2 separate regions of the Homo sapiens genome follow, and region 1 is linked to region 2. The links are contacts of gene promoters, found by promoter capture Hi-C in blood cells and fetal thymus (Javierre and others, 2016). All regions are on one chromosome and are shown on one strand. Each heading gives the region's core, a stretch centred on a gene start or on the middle of the fragment in contact. The rest is flanking DNA. Distances are from core to core; before and after follow the strand shown.

Region 1 (5,887 bases), core at 1,770-4,269, 230 kb before region 2:
ACTAAAAATGCAAAAAATTAGCCGGGCGTGGTGGTGGGCGCCTGTAGTCTCAGCTACGCGGGAGGCTGAGGCAGGAGAATGGCATGAACCTGGGAGGCGGAGCTTGCAGTGAGCCAAGATCGCGCCACTGCACTCCAGCCTGGGCAACAGCACGAGACTCCGTCTCAAAAAAAAATAAAATAAAATAAAATAAAGTAGAATCATAGAATATTACAAATTTTTTATAATTCTCACAACAATTGTTTCCATTTTATAGATGAAGTTATTGAACTCTTATTTATTTTTTTTTTTTTGAGACGGAGTCTCACTGTGTCACCCAGGCTGGAGTGCAGTGGCCCAATCTTGGCTCACTGCAACCTCCGCCTCCCAGGTTCAAGCTCTTCTCCTGCCTCAGCCTCCTTAGTAGCTGGGACTACAGGCTCACGCCACCATGCCTGGCTAATTTTTGTATTTTTTTAGTAGAGACGGGGTTTCACCATGTTGGCCAGGCTGGTCTCGAACTCCTGACCTCAAGTGATTCACCCACCTCAGCCTCCCAAAGTGCTGGGATTACAGGCGAGAGCCACTGCGCCCAACCTGAAGTTGTTAAACTCTTAAATGGCTGAACCAGGTTCGGTCCCCAATGTGTTTTATTCCAAAGCCTGTAGTCATACCATTCCTTCTCTTTGACTTTATCAGCAGTTACAAAGCAAAACATAAGGCCTACTTTTTGTTTTATCTTTACTTAATGTATTTGTCCTTTATAAGATATAACAGTCTTTCATACACTACTGCCTTCATCCAGCAACCTTCACCTCATATGATGTTATATTCCTTAACTCTTTGTTTTTTGTATAGAATCCCTGCCTATTGAATAAGAAGTGGTGGCCCCGCTCCTTTTTGCCCCAGGGTGCTGTAGTGAGAAGCAGACAGTGGGACTGCCGTTCTTTTTTGGCAGTAATGTGACTTTCTGTCTACTGTATAAGTAGCTCTGGAAATTAAGGTGTTCAAGAAAATTATTTCTGGTACCTAAAGATCCTGAGGGTTGCCCGGCGCAGTAGATCATAGGGTCAGAGATCGAGACCATCCTGGCTAACACGGTGAAACCCCATCTCTACTAAAAATACAAAAAATTAACCGGGCGTGGTGGCGGGCGCCCGTAGTCCCAGCTACTCAGGAGGCTGAGGCAGGAGAATGGTGTGAACCCGGGAGGCAGAGCTTGCAGTGAGCCGAGATCAAGCCACTGCACTCCTGCCTGGGCAACAGAGCAAGACTCCGTCTCCAAAAAAAAAAAGGATCCTGAGGGTAGAGGGTATTAGGTAGAGACAGATGAAAAGGTGGAGAGAATAGGATTCACATGGGGGTCTGGGGAAGGAAGGAGCCTCAAATGTGATTAGTGGAGACAGCTCGATAACCCAGAAGGGGCGGTAGCATTCAGAAGCATTCAATGAATTGATAGCAGCCATTTCAATGAGTATCTATTGCAGTCAGCTGACTGTTTAGTAAAACTTTAAAATAGACCCTGCCCCTTCTCTTGACACCTATAGGAGACACTTTGAGACTCCGAACAATTCTGGAAGCAATACAGAAGCACATTCATTCTTCCTCCCTCATCTTCAAACTGGCCCAAGATGCATTCAAGATTGCTACTCCCACCGACAGTAGTACTGACAGCACCCTGCTCAACGTTGCCCTGGAACTTGGGTTACAGGTATGGAGGAAGAGTAGGCCATCCACAGTTTAGACCGCTGACCTAGTGACAGTTGGCAGAAGATAAGATCTCTGGGAGACTGGGCATAGGCCAAGTCTGGCTCTTCCTTTGGGCCCAGAACACAAGTTCTAGGCTAGGGAAAAGGCAAGGATTTCATAAATTGGGCTCCACTTTTAAGTTAAGGCCAGAAGCAAGATAAAGCTTTAGGCTCCCTGGGGTCCCTATCTTCTCTCTACCTCCCCATTTCTACAAGTCAAGCAAGGTATGATAATAAGGACTTTGCTGCAGATCATCAGAGAAGCTTCCTATCTGATTGGTGGGAGGGCTGGGAAAGAAATTAACTGTATTTTATGTTTATCAGCGGAGAGACCACTGTTTAAAGCACCAGAAAATATTTGTCGCATAAATGAATGCAAGGGGAGGGAGAGGTCACAACAGTTAGGCATAGCCCACTGGAAAGGCCTCTTTTGTGCCCAGGTGATGCGGATGACCTTATCAACCCTTAACTGGAGACGCAGGGAGATGGTACGATGGTTGGTGACCTGTGCTACAGAAGTGGGTGAGTCTCCCACCTCCCTCTACCCCCAGGGGAAAGGAGTTTCTAGGCCCTACTCTTGGGACAGGACAATCAATCCTTAGAGCTCTCATATTCCTATGAGATCTTAGGTCCATCAGGAGATGGCCTAAGAAAGGATGGGGCTGCTGGTAGGAGAAGGTGGCCTCTGTTCAGCCAGCCCAAGCCCTGTCTTCACTGCTTGAACCATATCCTGATGTCAGCAGCCCTTGATCCTCTCAACAGAGACATGTCTAAGAGAATGAATTTTCAGTTGCTACTCAAGTGCTCCCTTGGGAGGTAGTGGGCCCAGTGGTTTGGTCCCCATCCCTGTGCATGCTTGTAAAAAACTCCAGACAACTTAGAGGCTCAGGACCCTTTCTAAAGCCCAAAGCCCCAGCACAAGACTCTACCCTGAGAGGCCCCACTTCAGCTAGAACCCCTGGCAGATCTGTAACCCATGCCTCAGGGCAAGCAAACCCCAGGCTCTACTGTCCCATCCTTGTGAGGGGCTAAGAGCACCTGCAGAAACCTTCAACTCTCTGACCTGGGGAAAGAAGGGATAGGAAGAGACCCCAAACAGGGTCTGGCCATCTGGGATGCTCCCCTTGCCCTGGTTTGCCTCATATCATCTCAAGGTTGCTGAGGAGGAAGAATTCATCTCTGCAGGCCAAGTTCAAACCCCAAATGGTAATCTGGGTAGACCTGAATCAGGACCCAGATGGCCACGGCTGAGCTCAGGCTCCCCCTGACAGGTGTGCGGGCCCTGGTGAGCATCTTGCAGAGCTGGTACACACTCTTCACCCCTACTGAGGCTACTAGTATTGTAGCTGCCACAGCCGTATCCCACACCACTATCCTGCGCCTCAGTCTTGACTATCCACAGCGGGAGGAACTGGCTAGCTGTGCTCGCACACTGGCTCTACAGTGTGCTATGAAGGATCCACAGAGCTGTGCCCTGTCAGCCCTTACACTCTGTGAGAAAGACCACATTGCCTTTGAGGCAGCCTACCAGATTGCCATTGATGCTGCTGCTGGTGGTATGACCCATTCACAGCTGTTCACCATCGCCCGCTACATGGAGCTCCGTGGCTACCCGCTACGTGCCTTCAAGCTGGCCTCATTGGCCATGAGCCATCTTAACCTGGCCTACAACCAGGATACTCACCCAGCCATCAATGATGTGCTCTGGGCTTGTGCTCTCAGCCACTCTCTGGGCAAGAATGAGCTGGCAGCTCTCATCCCCCTGGTGGTGAAGAGTGTGCACTGTGCCACAGTGCTTTCAGACATCTTACGACGCTGCACAGTGACTGCACCTGGCCTGGCCGGCATCCCAGGCCGCCGAAGCTCTGGAAAGCTCATGTCCACTGACAAAGCTCCATTGCGCCAGTTGCTGGATGCCACCATCAATGCCTATATCAACACTACACACTCACGCCTAACACACATCAGCCCTCGCCACTATGGAGAGTTCATTGAGTTTCTAAGCAAGGCTCGGGAGACCTTCCTGCTGCCCCAGGATGGCCACCTGCAGTTTGCCCAGTTCATCGACAACCTCAAACAGATCTACAAAGGCAAGAAAAAGTTGATGCTGCTGGTGCGAGAGCGCTTTGGCTGAGAGAGCAGATAGCTCACTGCCAGAGCAGCCTGGGTTCCCAGGTAGTATCAGGTCAGGCCAAGGGCACTGAAACATTTGTCCACCCTGAGAGAACTCTGAGCACCTGTGGATGAGGCCAAAGGACCACAGGGCTAAGGATGGGGAAAGTCCAGCTCTAGTCGATAATGCCTACCTTGGCAAGCTTCTGACTACAGCCTACTGTTCATGGAGGAGCTGGGCCCTGCAGATCGACCAGAAACCCCACAACATGCCACCTCATGCCCCTATATCCTGCGTGTCCTGAGCATTGGCCCTGTCTCCCTTGGCAAACACAGAACACTGTTCCATCTCAGGGATTGCTTAACCAGAGAAACAGACACATTTGTGGGACTGTAAATACTATATGTGTTGCTAATTATTGTAAACTTGTAACTATTTATAATTCTGCTTCTGATTTGATGGGCACTTGAAGTAGCTGTGGGTAGGAGGATATGCTTATTTTCTGAGGAGACTCACAACCATTTCTCAGGTTTCCCTTGCAGAGTGTTTGCTGGTAGCAGTGGAAGAGTGGGGGTGCCAAGGAGAAAAATGGCCAGTTAGGATCAACCCAAGTCTAGTCTATGCAGAATCCCCCACCTACAGACAGGGCATTTATAGTCCAGTGGTGAGTGAGGGACAGAGGCCAGGACTGGACTTAGACTTTTGCCTCACAAAACTGTGAGGACATTGAAGCTCCTGCCTCACACAGCCTCTTCAGGAGCCTGCTGAACACCTGAGAAACAAGTGCAGGGAGAAGATGAAGGTCTGGGAAGCCGCTGAGTTCATAATATTCATCTACTGTGGTCACCTTTGTGTTAGCAAGTGTGTGGTTTCATCTATAATTGTGTGTGTGTATCTTTATGGCTAAGTACATGTGTGTATGTACATAGATACATCTGTGCATGCCTGTTTGTGCACATATATATTTATGTGTATGTGTCAGTTCTATGGCTGTGTACCTGTTTGAATATGTGCACACTGGACTGTGAGTTTCTACGTGAGGATATACACATTTTGTGTACATGTGAGGATGCACATCTTTGTGCAAATGCACTCATGTTTGTGCATGTTTAGTATGTGTATCTGCGTACACGAGTGCATGTGTATAAACATGTTTGTATCCATGTGTATGCTTGTTATCCATGCATCTGTGTCTTTATATGTGTAACTGAGCGTATTTCTACATGTAGGGATGTCTGTGTATTCATGTTTGAGGATCTGCATCAATGTGTCCTTTTTGCCAGATTTCTCTTTCCCATTCCTCTTAAATCTCTCTCGCCAGCTAAACGTTTGTTCCCCATCTCTGTGCCTCCTCTATTCATTCTCTCACCAAACAAGCTTCTAAGCACCAATCTCCCTCTGCCATCAGATTGGCTGCTTTAGCTCCATAGTTCTCTTCTCGCCTCATACTTGCTTTCTTCCCCTGCCTTTCTACCTCAAGCTTCCTCGCCGGCTTTTGTCACAGTCTCATTGCTCGCTGACTTGGAGGCTAGGGCTGGTCTGCACTTAGCCTCTCCCTTCCTAATTTCTAGCCCTAGTGGGCAGTCCTGTCTTAGCCCTGGCTGACCTCCATAGTGTATCATGTTCCTGCTACCTTCCTGACCCCTGTGCTCAGCCTGGAATTGTTATAGGAGGTAGCAAGGGCACTCAGAAAAGTCAGTTGGAACCAGTGTCTTGGTGTTTACTGTTTCATGTCTTAGTTCCTGAGTTGGGGGTGGGGTTTGATAGGGAAGGGGTGGTATAGCTAGAATGTGAACTAAGAACTTCTCCATCTGCTTTACTTTTTCTTTCTTCGACAAACTGTCACCTTTTTTACTCCAAACTGACCAAGAAGTTGTATTTGCCATTTGTGGCTACTCAAGTCTTACTGTCCAGCCAAGGGCCCCTACGTCTCAGCCCAATGGGTTGGTTAAAAAAAAGAGAGAAGCCACTCTCATTTCTGTATCACAGTTGCCCTTTTTTAGCAAGTGTGTGAATTCACAGTGCTTTTCTATGAATAAATCATGGA
Region 2 (6,344 bases), core at 451-2,950:
ACAGTGTAGGGGGAGGAGCTTCCCAAAACAAGACAGAGGCAGGACCACCACTCTTGGGATTTTTCAGTGTTCACTTACCTCAGCACTGGGAGGGTAAGTAAGCTGCCAATTCTCTTCCACTTTGAGGTTCTATTTCTTTTCTTTTCTTTTTTCTTTTTCTTTTTCTTTTTTGAGACAAAGTTTTGCTCTTGTTGTCCAGGCTGGAGTGCAATGGCATGATCTCGGCTCACCGCAATCTCCACCTCCCAGGTTCAAGCGATTCTTCTGTCTCAGCCTCCGGAGTAGCTGGGATTACAGGCATGTGCCACCATGCTCAGCTAATTTTGTATTTTTAGTAGAGATGGGGTTTCTCCATGTTGGTCAGGCTGATCTCGAACTCCCGACCTCAGGTGATCCGCCTGCCTCGGCCTCCCAAAGTGCTGGGATTACAGGCGTGAGTCACAGTGCCTGGCCTTTTTTTTTTTTTTTTTTTTTGAGACAGAGTCTCTGTCACCCAAGCTGAAGTGCAGTGGCACAATCTCAGCTCACTGCAACCTCTCCCTCCCGGGTTCAAGCGATTCTCCCATTGAGATTCTATTTCTTTTTCTTTTTCTTTTTCTTTCTTTCTTTTCTTTTTTTTTTTTTTTTGATTACCCAGGCTAGAGTGCAGTGGCACGATCTCAACTCGTTGCAACCTGCGCCTCCCCAGGTTCAAGCAATTCTCCTGCCTCAGCCTCCCATGTACCTGCTGGGATTACAAGTTCGTGCCACCACACCCGGCTAATTTTTGTATTTTTAGTAGAGACAGGGTTTCACCATGTTGGGCCAGGCTAGTCTCGAACTCCTGACCTCAAGTGATCCACCTGCGTTGAGGCTGCCCAAAGTGCTAGGATTACAGGTGTGAGCCACCTTGCCTGGCAGCGGAAGTTCTATTTCTATCAGCGCCTTAGGTATTACTTCCTCCAGAGGTGAAAGTGGCCACTCAAATCTTGGGCACCCCTAGGAGTCAGGATGTTGGACACAGGGCTTAACGGAGCCTGCACTCCTAGGCCTGAGCTTCCAGATCTGTGGCTGTCAGCCCCGTGGCATGGATGGAGAAGAGCCTGGCCAAGCCCCCAAGCCCCTGTACAAGAAGACTGGGAGTGTGGCCAGTGCACAGGATGGGTCCTGGAGCTCATGCCTTTGCTAGGCCACTTCCAGCCTTGGAAGTCCATCAGCCCTGGCTTTGAATCCTGCCTCCAACATGTTCTAGCTGTATGGCCGACGGCGGGCAAGTCATTTACCTCTTGGAGCCTCATCTGTGAAATGTGGATGATTGATTCCCTACCTCATGGTGCTGTGATGAGGATTTCTTGAGAGGATGACCTAGTAGTGCCCTTGGCATGGTTCCTGTCACTTAGTCAGTGCTCTGTGATCAGCAGCTGGTATTATTATAACAGTTTATCATGCATCTGTCTTCCCACCTGAAACGTGGGACAATAACCCCTGTCATACTGGCTTGAAGGACATGGTGTCGTCTGTGTGAGCTGTGGGGTCAGTATAGCTGGCATTTCTGCCACTCGAAGGCCAGCCCAACCCTACAGGGGTAAGGAGACACACCCAGTTCCCAGCACCAGGGGAAGCTGGATGACAGCTTCAATCCATCAATGATAGGCCTCAGTCCAGCCTAACTTTATGGACTGCAGAGGTACTTAAGTCTGTGGGGGTTGAAGTCTAGCCCAGTTCATCTTCCACACGGGCTGCTGCCCAGAGCAGGTAGGCAGGTATGGGATGGGGGTGAGAGTGCCCTGGGCCCTGGTAGTTCTAGTTAATCAGCTTCCAAAGCAAGGCCCCAAGGAATAGCAGTGGATTTGGGCTGGAGCTGCGTCTCTTGTCCGCAGCAGTTCAGGATCTGGTTATCCCTAGCCCTGCAGGCTGAAGAGGAGCTTGAGGAAACCTCATGCATGAAGGGACACAGATCTCAGTTCTACCTTGTCCAACTCTAGCCTGGCTTTGCCCATGTACTGCTCAGTTCTGCAGGGGGTGGGGTGTACTTTTCTGCTCTGCAGGCTCCTACCCCCTTGTCCACTGACGCAGGGTGAAGGCTGGGGTGTGTGAGACCAGAGTGGAAGGGAGGTTGTCTGGAGAACTAAACGACAGCCCTGGGGGCAACTCTTGTGACCTCCTGCCCCAGGCTCCCAGCACCATGACGGTTTCATACACTCTCAAAGTGGCGGAGGCCCGCTTCGGAGGTTTCTCTGGCCTGCTTCTCCGCTGGAGGGGAAGCATCTACAAGCTCCTCTACAAGGAATTCCTCCTCTTTGGGGCCTTGTACGCTGTGCTTAGCATCACCTACCGGTAAGGGCAGGGTCTTAGAGCTGGCGCAAGTGGGGAGACTGGGCCACCCACCTCCCTCTAACCCAAGCCTACACCTGCCTTCCCCAGGCTGCTGCTGACCCAGGAGCAGAGGTACGTGTATGCTCAGGTGGCCCGGTACTGCAACCGCTCAGCAGACCTCATTCCCTTGTCCTTTGTATTGGGTAAGGCTCCCTTCTAGTTTTCCCTGTGTCCCCCTTACTGTGTTCCCTGACCTCTGGGTTGGGTTGACAGCTCCGAGGGTCAGAATTACCCAACAGATGGTGTGGTGACACACCTGCAGTCTCAGCTACTCGAGAGGCTGAGGTGAGAGGATCGCTTGAGCCCAGGAGTTCCAGTCCAGCCTGGGCAATGTAGCGAGACTCTGCTAAAAAAAAAAAAAAAAAAAAAAAGAATTACTCAACACGGTGGCAGAGCCTTCCTGGTCAGCCAGAGCAGGCCCAGCAGGCACAGGAGCTGGGTGCTGGGTCCAGGACTTCCAGAGGGCAGGGCCCTATCACTTGCCGGACCCTCACTTCCAGCAAGGCACAAGACACCTGCTGGCCTCACAAGCCCACCCTGGGCACTGCAGGGGAGCTGGACAGAGGTGACAACCCCTTCCCCACCCTCCTGGGAAGCAGTCTCCTGGCTTTGAATCCCCACTTTCCCTCTGCTGAAGGAAGTTTGCCCTCCTCCCTCCTCCTGGCCTCGCACAGCAGGGCACTGGAGCTGAATGTTTCCTTCCCCCTGCCACGATTCAACTGGCCTGGACCAGGCCCTTTGCTGGGGGAGGTGAGGCGCTCCGACCCCCAGGCTCTCCACTCTCCCTTCCTACTCCCTCTATCACGGCGGCCAAGCAGGTTTCTATGTGACTCTCGTGGTGAACCGCTGGTGGTCCCAGTACACAAGCATCCCGCTGCCAGACCAGCTGATGTGCGTCATCTCGGCTAGCGTGCACGGCGTGGACCAGCGGGGCCGCCTGCTGCGCCGCACCCTCATCCGCTACGCGAACCTGGCGTCCGTGCTGGTGCTGCGCTCGGTCAGCACCCGCGTGCTTAAGCGCTTCCCCACCATGGAGCACGTGGTGGACGCAGGTGCGCCGCCCGCCGGGAGCCTCTGGGGGTCCGGCCCACAGCCGGATGCAGGTGGCGCCTGGGAGAGTCCTGGGAGCAGGGGCCTCCAGGGAAGGGTCTGGACTGCGACAGGAACGCGGAACCGCGAGTCCTGGGACAGCCGGTGGACGCGAGGGAGGGGAGCCAGACGGCGGAACAGCAGCCTCCCCTGGCGGCAGAGGGTGCAACTGCACCCCACCTGCTTTACCCCCTCAGGTTTCATGTCCCAGGAAGAGAGGAAAAAGTTTGAGAGCCTGAAATCCGACTTCAACAAGTACTGGGTCCCCTGCGTCTGGTTCACCAACCTGGCGGCCCAGGCCCGGAGGGACGGGCGAATACGTGACGATATCGCTCTCTGTCTACTTTTGGAAGTGAGTGGGCTCAGGACCAGACCCATCTGCCCTCCTCCCTCTAATTTTAAAGATGAATAATAATTTTAATACCTAACAGTTGTATGGCATCAGCTGTGTACCCCAGCCTTTTGGAAGCCCTGTACCCATGTTAACTCATTCATCCCTTACAGCAACTCTTGACATAGGTACTATCATCCTCCTTGCACAGATGTGGAAACTGAGGCACAGAGTAGAAAAGAAATTTGCCTAAGTTACACAGCTAGTTAGCAGAGCTGGGATTCAAGCACCCCATCTTAATACACCTCTGAGGGCAGAATGAGAAAGAGCCTCCTGGCCAGGCCCAGGCCTAGTTTGTGCTGGGCACCCCTGTTCCTTCCTCACCTCTGCTGACTTCCTGTTCCTGCTGTTCCCCCAGGAGCTGAACAAGTACCGAGCCAAGTGCAGCATGCTATTCCACTATGACTGGATCAGCATCCCCCTCGTCTACACCCAAGTAACTGCCTCTCCCCTCCCGAGTCCCAGTGCCTACTGTATGTCCTGTGCTGTGTGTGAGATGAGAAGAATTAGCGATGGTACTTGCCTGGCCATTTCAGTCCCCTGAGGCACCGGGTTCATCCTAAAAGCCCCCCACCACCCCCAACAAGGTGACCCTGTCCCCACTGGTACTGCCACACCAGGATACATGTTTGATTACTTGTCAGACTTCCCATAGATCCTCAGAGGCAGGGGCAGCATTTCTCCTTGGCCCGCTGCATCCTGCACTGAGCCTGGCTCTTCATTCTCCAGGTGGTGACCATAGCCGTCTACTCTTTCTTTGCCCTCTCCCTGGTTGGCCGCCAGTTTGTGGAGCCAGAGGCAGGGGCTGCCAAACCTCAGAAGCTTCTGAAGCCAGGCCAGGAGCCAGCCCCAGCCCTGGGAGACCCGGACATGTACGTGCCTCTCACCACTCTGCTGCAGTTCTTCTTCTATGCTGGCTGGCTCAAGGTGGGCACTGCAGATGGGCATGCCAGCCTGCTCTGTGGAGATGTGGGCAGAGGGGCTGCCCCGACTTTGGGGAAAAAGAGTGGGGCTCTGAACCCAGAAAACCCTGTCTCTGCCACCTATAGGTGGCTGAACAGATCATCAACCCATTTGGTGAGGATGATGACGACTTTGAGACAAATCAGCTCATAGACCGCAACTTGCAGGTGAGCAAGCATCAGGATCAGGAGTCCAGGGCAGCTCCTGGGCCCCCTCTCCCGGTCAGCTCTCAGCCCGGCCGTGGGAAGGAGAGGAGAGGAGGATCCTTGTAACTTGCTGGTGGCCCAGGTGTCCCTGCTATCCGTGGACGAAATGTACCAGAACCTTCCCCCCGCTGAGAAGGACCAGTACTGGGATGAGGACCAGCCGCAGCCACCCTACACTGTGGCCACGGCGGCCGAGTCTCTGCGGCCCTCATTCCTGGGCTCCACCTTCAACCTGCGGTGAGTGGCTTGCACTGGGCCTGACCCGGCACGCGGGTCCTCGCTCAGCCTCTGGGGCACCGATGCCTCGGTCCTTCCCCGAGAGCCGATCCCGCGTCCCCGCTCCCGCCCTGTGCCCCGGCTCAGCCCGCCCTCCCGCCCGCAGCATGAGCGACGACCCTGAGCAGAGCCTGCAGGTGGAGGCGTCCCCCGGATCTGGTCGGCCCGCGCCCGCCGCGCAGACCCCGTTGCTCGGCCGCTTCCTGGGCGTAGGGGCGCCCTCCCCGGCCATCAGCCTCCGGAACTTCGGCCGCGTGCGAGGCACCCCCCGCCCCCCGCATCTGCTGCGCTTCCGGGCGGAGGAGGGCGGCGACCCCGAGGCCGCAGCCCGCATCGAGGAGGAATCGGCGGAGTCCGGGGACGAGGCCCTGGAGCCCTGAGGTCTCGCCTGCCCCCGCCCGGTTTCCCCCACCCACTGCCCTCCTTCCCTCCCGTGCCCGGTCCTGCCAGCCAGCTCTATTAGAGCAGCTTTTCCTGTGTGCCTTGAAGGCCAGAGCATTTAGGGACAGAACTTGAAAGAGAAGATGGCGAAAAGGGCCTGAGCCAGGGCTGGGAATGTGTCCACTTTGGTGGGAGAGAAGGTCGGTTGCTTGGGGGACGTGAAGCTAGAAAAATAAATGAGCCCAGGCATAGAGGACTAGAGCCCAGGTGCACGGTTAGCTTCACAGCAACAGGGAGCTAGGCCATTGGTTCTCAAACTTAAGGAAGGATCAGCATCACGGAAGGTCTTGTCAAAAGAGTGCTGGGCACCACTCCCAGCATTTCTGGCACGTTAGATTTGGGATGGCGCCCAATAACTTGCATTTCTAACAAGTTCCCAGGTGATGCTGTGCTGCTTGTCCAGGAAACACAATTTGAGAGTCATGTGAAACGTGCTTGAAGGGGTATACCTTACCCTGGTAACCTTACTCAAAAGAAGGGTCAGTGTGTGCTGGGGGACTTTTGCCTTGTTTGTAATGTTAAAGTTTTTGTTTACATTGAGAATATATTCAAGTTTTTGTTTAAGTGTTGTTTAGTTTTTGTTTATATTGAGAATATATTTATTACTTGTGCAGTTATAATTG

The links. Contacts are between HindIII fragments. The CHiCAGO score rates a contact against its expected background, and 5 or more counts as called.
Region 1: a contact is called between a fragment that was not itself captured here and the fragment with the promoter of BEST4 in region 2, in 1 of 17 cell types (neutrophils). The highest score is 6.4, in neutrophils.

Annotation. Positions count from the first base shown.
Region 1 is chr1:45,016,428-45,022,314 of GRCh38, reverse strand. ZSWIM5 (zinc finger SWIM-type containing 5) reads left to right here. Exons shown (of 14, transcript NM_020883.2): 12 at 1,527-1,690; 13 at 2,168-2,249; 14 at 2,999-5,887. The coding sequence ends at 3,861. Among named protein-coding and RNA genes, the nearest start is that of UROD, 7.1 kb to the right of the region's middle. The HindIII fragment of the contact is 2,051 bases long and covers 1,994-4,044 here.
Region 2 is chr1:44,783,526-44,789,869 of GRCh38, reverse strand. It overlaps BEST4 (bestrophin 4), which reads left to right and starts at 1,700. Exons shown (of 9, transcript NM_153274.3): 1 at 1,700-2,316; 2 at 2,404-2,498; 3 at 3,174-3,407; 4 at 3,642-3,796; 5 at 4,194-4,271; 6 at 4,565-4,762; 7 at 4,885-4,965; 8 at 5,087-5,241; 9 at 5,387-6,285. The coding sequence starts at 2,165. The coding sequence ends at 5,660. RefSeq lists enhancers at 2,472-3,157, 3,159-3,248, 3,158-3,843 and silencers at 3,369-3,498, 5,348-5,697. The HindIII fragment of the contact is 5,761 bases long and covers 1-4,659 here.